2 separate regions of the Homo sapiens genome follow, and region 1 is linked to region 2. The links are contacts of gene promoters, found by promoter capture Hi-C in human tissues and cell types (Jung and others, 2019). All regions are on one chromosome and are shown on one strand. Each heading gives the region's core, a stretch centred on a gene start or on the middle of the fragment in contact. The rest is flanking DNA. Distances are from core to core; before and after follow the strand shown. Region 1 has its middle 93 kb from the start of LINC02404. Region 2 holds the start of EEA1 (early endosome antigen 1).

Region 1 (3,185 bases), core at 258-2,757, 1.1 Mb after region 2:
TGCATAGGTAAAAGTGTGCCATGGTGGTTTGCCACACAAATCATCTCATCACCTAGGTATTAAGCCCAGCATCCATAACCTATTCTGGATGCTCTCCCTCCCCCCGTCCCCAGCAGGCTCCAGTGTGTGTTGTTCCCCATCATGCATCCATATGTTCTCATCATTCAGCTCCCAATTATACGTGAGAACATGCAGTCTTTTGTTTTCTGTTCCTGCATTAGTTTGCTGAGAATAATGGCTTCCAGCTCCATCAATGTCCCTGCAAAGAGCATGGTCTCGTTCCTTTTTATGGCTACATAGTATTCCATGGTGTGTATGTACCACAGTTTCTTTATCCAGCCTGTCACTGATGGGCATTTAGGTGGATTCCATGCCTTTGCTATTGTGAATAGTGCTCAATGAACATATGCATGCATGTATCTTTATAGTATAATGATTTGTATTCCTTTGGGTATATACCCAGTAATGGGATTGCTGGGTCAAACAATATTTCTGCCTCTATGTCTTTGAGGAATCACCACACTGTCTTCCACAATGGTTGAACTAATTTACACTCCCACCAACAGTAGAAAAGTGTTCTTCTCCACAACCTCATGAACATCTGTCTTTTTTTGTCTTTTTAACAATAGCTATTTTAACTGGCATGAGATGGTATCTCACTTATGGTTTTGACTTGAATTTCTCTAATGATCAGTAATGTTGAGCTTTTTTTCATGTTTGTTGGCTGCATGTATATCTTCTTTTGAGAAGCGTTCATGTCATTTGCCCACTCTATAATGGGGTTGTTTTTGTTTTTTTTGCCTGTTGATTTGTTTAAGCTCTTTGTAGACTCTGGATATTAGATCTTTTCAGATGGATAGATTGCAAAATTTTTCTCCTATTCTATAGGTTGTCTATTCATTTTGATGATAGTTTCTTTTGCTGTGCAGAAGCTCTTTAGTTTAATTAGATTCCATTTATCAATTTTTGCTTTTGTTGCAATTGCTTTTGGTACCTTCATCATAAAATATATGCCCATGCCTGTGTCCTGAATGGTATTGTGTAGGTTCTAGGGTTTTTATAGTTTTGGGTTTACATTTAAGTCTTTAATACATCTTAAGTTGATTTTTGTACATGGTATAAGGAGGGGTCCAGTTTCAATTTTCTGCATATCGTTAGCCAGTTATCCCAGCACCATGTATTAAATAGGGAATCCTTTCCCCATTGCTTGTTTTTGTCAGGTTTGTTGAAGATAAGATGCTTGTAGGTGTGCAGTCTTATTTCTAAGTTCTCTATTCTTTTCCATTGGTCTATGTGTCTATTTTTGTACCAGTACCATGCTGTTTTGGTTACTGTATCCCTGTAGTATCGTTTGAAGTCTGGTAGCGTTATACCTCCAGCTGTGTTCTTTTTGCTTAGGATTGTTTTGGCCATATGGGCTCTTTTTTGGTTCCATATGAATTTTAAAATAGTTTTTTTTCTAATTCTGTAAAGAATGTCAATGTAATTCTGTAAAGAATGTAGTTTAATTGAATTAGCATTGAATCTATAAATTGCTTTAGGCACTATGGCCATTTTCATGATACTAATTCTTCCTATCCAGGAGCATGGAATGTTTTGTCATTTGTTTTTATCATCTCTGATTTCTTTGAGCAGTGGTTTGTAGTTCTCCTTGAAGAGGTCCTTCACTTCCCTTGTTAGCTCTATTCCTAGGTATTTTATTCTTTTTGTGGCAATTGTGAATGGGAGTTCATTCATGATTTGGCTCTCGGCTTGCCTGTTATTGGTATGTAGGAATGCTGGTGATTTTTGCACATTGATTTTGTATCCTGAGATTTTGCTGAAGTTGCTTATCAGCTTAAGGAGATTTTGGGCTGAGACGATGGGGTTTTCTAAATATACAATCATGTCATCTGCAAACAGAGACAATTTGACTTCCTCTCCTCCTCTGTGAATACCCTTTATTTCTTTCTCTTGCCTGATTGCCCTGGCCATAACTTCCAATGCTATGTTAAATAGGAGTGGTGAGAGAGGGCATCCTTGTCTTGTGCTGGTTTTCAAAGGGAATGCTTCCAGTTTTTGCCCATTCAATATGAGATTTTTTATCTTTGTATTCCTGGCACCAAACACAGTGCCTAGTATGTATCAGACTCTTAAAAGCTATATTTTAAACAAAATTAAATTAAAAGTAACTGAAATTTCATGAGGCACAGACATGGCTGTTAGTCAGAAGAGGCTGGATTACGCATCAGGAAAAAACAGCACTGAAGTCTCCGTTGCAAACATACCACAGCCCTATTTCTTATGCTTATGATCCATGCCACTCTCCAAGGTGGCTAGTATCCATGAAGCTCCTACACTCAGAGATCTAGGCTAACAAAGGAGCTATTGGACAGCTCCACCTTATAGCTGCATGTTCTGGCTATAGTGTGGCTTTCAGATTCACCAGGAAAGGGAGAAGGGGAGAAGGTGTGATGGAAGGATTTTCTCTGTTCAGGGTTTGGTTCAGAATTAATGCACATCTGTTTACACACAGTCCATTGGCCATCACCAGCATGTGGCCCCATCAAACTACAAAGTGGCTAGAAAGTGTGACACAATTGTATCCCCAGAAGGAGAGGAAAATTAGAAAGCAACGAATGTTAGGGATCTCTCTGTCTAAAGTAACATGCAAGAGTAATTTTTAATGTGCTTTTTAAATGTTTTCTTTAAAAAAGATAATGCTCAAATACCATTCAAGGACTCTTCTATTCCAGCTCCCCTACCTTGGCTCCAAATGTACTCAGCCAAATGCATATATTTTGCTTTCATAGAAGAGTCTATAAACAACAAGATCACAAAATAGGCACGATATCTTTGGAGGCCTTCACACAAAGACTTACATAAGTAAAATATGACATAAATAATACTCAAGTATCAAGGCCTGAGCTTTTGGAGAGTAAAAAAATAATACCAGAAAAGTTCTTCAAGGGCATATAGTTGGTGGTTAGATACTAAATAAAACACTTGCAGATTTAACCCCAATAATTGATTATTCTTTAAGGGTTAAGGTCAGTGTTTTGCACACCAAATGACACTGTGGATTCATAAACTATCTGATATGTCAGCCACATTCTTGAAGACCAGAGGGTTTGTGTGTACAAGAACAGAATAGTGATCTAGTGGACAAAATTATCTTAAATACAAAACGTAATTTAGCCGGTTGT
Region 2 (2,958 bases), core at 244-2,743:
AAAACAAACAAAAAAGAGAAAAAAAGTCACTTTTATCACCCCATGTCGCTGAGAATGTTTCCCATATTGTCTGAAAATAAAGCACCTCATGTTTAGAAAGATGGAAAAGTATGTTCTTTGTAAGTGCATTATCACTAGTGATTACTCATATATTAGCTGTAGGCATGACCGTGCTGCTGCACCATCGAGAGACACACACACACATAATAAAAAACCAAATATATTTGGGATAGAAATATCATATTACATTATATAATGCATTATACTTTACAAAACATTTTCCTATTCATTAACTGATTTGCAAATAATATTTAATTTTGTGCTGCTTTTCAAAAGATCTGGAAGTGCTTTCCAAAAAGCACTCCATTCATTGCTTCATAGGCTTCATTCAGTGGTCTGTTGGTTTTTTCTTTTTTTTTTTTTTTCCCTCCCAGCAAGGTTAGTTCCATTATTCCCTCTCCTTCCCTATTCAAGCAATATTAAAGGCTTCTCTTTTTCTACCAGGGTGTTAAGTTGAGCCTCTTGGCTGTGAATATTGGCAGAATGGTAGGACGCAGAAGCTGTGATTTCTCGAGTTAAATAATGACATCGTGCCTGGAGGTCAGTTCAAAGACCACGTCGTTTTGGCACGATATTTATCTGTGACCTCATTTTCTTCTTAATCTATAAAACAGAGGCGTTAATGACAATTTACTTCATAAATCGATTATCAGAATAGGACTTAAAATTCCTTAGGAGGTCAAGCACGGGCTTTAGAAAGTGCAACATGTGAACATCAGCCTATTAAAAATTGTTTTGATCTAGAAAAGACAACCTCAAACTTCTCTTGCCAATTCAAATTCCAGCTTCTTCCTACCCTTCTTTTCTAAATCTTTGCTTTCTCTTTGGCTGAAATTAGAAGCAGGAAGGGAGCAGGGAAAGGAAACCTGGGACTGGAAAAGGGCAGGGAAGCCCAACAGACCGGTTAAGCACGTCTGAGATTCTCTAGTCGGCTTCAACCCAGGGGCTAAGAGGCAGAGTCAGCGTTTCCAGCAGAAACTAGCATATAGCTCAGGCTCAATACCACGTCGAGTCAGGAGCCATCGCCGGAAGGGTCACACCGACACATTTTACAAAACAGCCTAAGGCGTCCCCTCCTCCCGCCTGGGTCAGGGAGGGACACCCCCAGGGGTCCTCGCCCGCCTCCCACTAGCGGGCACGCGGTCGTCGCGCGGGCGCGGCCCTCTGACGGAGCCCAGGCGTGCACTCCGCAGCCTCGGCGTCCCCCAGCTAGCCGGAAGAAGCTGCGGCGACAGCGTCCTGCCGCCTGTCTGTCACGCAGCCGCCCACGTTGCCACCGCTTCCGATTGGTCGCTGGCCTGGACCGGCCCCCTTCAGCCCCGCCTCCCGCGAATGGACAGGCGAGGGGCGGGCCCGCCACCGCCCCGCCCCCCGGCGGCCGCGGGCGGGCCCGCCCATCTGTCAGTTACGGGGGCTGCCCGGCGGGCGGGCTGGAGGCGCTCGCAGGCTGCCTAGTCGTTCGCTCGCTCTCTCTCGCGTGCTCCCTCTCGCCGCCTGTGGGGAAGTCGGGGCCGCCCGAGCGGCCGTCGCCACCGCCTCGCCCCGACCTCCTTCCCGGTCCCCTCCCGGCCCAGTCCCTCCCGCCCGCGCACCCCGAGTAGTGAGTGGCCCCGCGCAGGGTCTGGAGAGTCACCGCGGCGGCGCCGGGTGGTGGTTAAACCATGTTAAGGAGGATTTTACAGAGGGTAAGAGAGTGAAACCGTCTTTCTGGCAGCACGTGAGCGGGACAGCCGGAGCTCGGGGCCGCGGCGCGGGCGCCCCTCCTCAGCGCGGGCTCCTTCCTTCCCTAGGCCCCACAGCCCGGCAGGCGCTTAGGCCTCGGTCGCCCGGCCCGGGGGCGGGGAGGGCGGGTGGGGCCGGCGCGGCGGGGCGGCAGGCAGAGCCCTGGTGGCCCCGCGCGTCCAGGCCTGGCGCCCGCTCCGGCGCGGGGCTCCGTGTGTGCGAGCGGGCTGCGAGCTGGAGGGTGTGGTGCCGGCGCGTTCCTCCCGGGAACCCTGAGTGGGAGTGAAAATGGAGAGTTGGTGCCCGTGGGACGGGCCAGCCGCCGCCTGCCGGGCTGGAGAACGCCCCATGGGAGATTCGGGCGGCTTGCTTCGCCTTTCCCCACCCGCCGCACTCCCCGTGCCCCCCAATTTGACACGATGCGCACCTGCCACACACGGCCCTGCTTTCTCCTTTGGACCACAGTGGAGGGTGGTGTGGTGAGCCCCGGCCTAGCCTGGGCCCAGGCGTGGGACTGACACTGGCACAGTCAGCCGAGAAGGAAGATGTTACTCACTGTTGGAAACTTTTTTTTTAATTAAAAATATGTTTTCTGTGCAAGCCCCACTACCTTATTTTAGCTATCCAAGAATAAATCCGCAGTAAGCTTGATCAAGTGGTATATACACTTAGTTTCTGCCTGTGCTGTCTCTGAAATCTGGAAAACCTTGAGGATAGAAAGATTAGAGCATTAGAAAACTGTAGGTGTATCATTTAAGAATCAGTTACTAGAATAACATAATTCACATCTCTTTTCCTGTAAGAGTTATTGTACCTGTCAACTTAAATTTGTTTTTTTTTTTTGGTATAGCTTTTTTCTTTTCTTTTTGAGGCTGATAGGGTGTAACAAAATGTAAATGATTGAAAAGTAGGTGCCGAGCCTATTAGTTCTTTACCGAGGGAGTAGGATAACTAGTTCAAAGGACAAAAGAAATTAGTGAATTTGTAGGATTCAGCCGAGGAATGTGCGGAAGAGAGTTGAGTCATCCAGTAGATAGGAAGGGAGTGCTCTTGCTTCTGCCTAGCTTTCTCCTGAAAGAATGAAGTCATGTGAAACTTGGTCAGTTATTAGAGGGAGAAATAGTTAACTTCTTTATCTGACAACCTGTGTTGACATTTAATTGTATTTTGCAGTGT

The links. Contacts are between HindIII fragments. The study calls those that stand out against the background at their distance.
Region 1: a contact is called between a fragment that was not itself captured here and the fragment with the promoter of EEA1 in region 2, in 1 of the 25 tissues and cell types used here (dorsolateral prefrontal cortex).

The regions. Positions count from the first base shown.
Region 1 is chr12:91,780,469-91,783,653 of GRCh38, reverse strand. No RefSeq gene overlaps it. Among named protein-coding and RNA genes, the nearest start is that of LINC02404, 93 kb to the left of the region's middle. The HindIII fragment of the contact is 5,622 bases long and covers 1-3,185 here.
Region 2 is chr12:92,927,830-92,930,787 of GRCh38, reverse strand. It overlaps EEA1 (early endosome antigen 1), which reads left to right and starts at 1,493. Exons shown (of 29, transcript NM_003566.4): 1 at 1,493-1,745. The coding sequence starts at 1,722. RefSeq lists a silencer at 1,024-2,103. The HindIII fragment of the contact is 16,341 bases long and covers 1-2,895 here.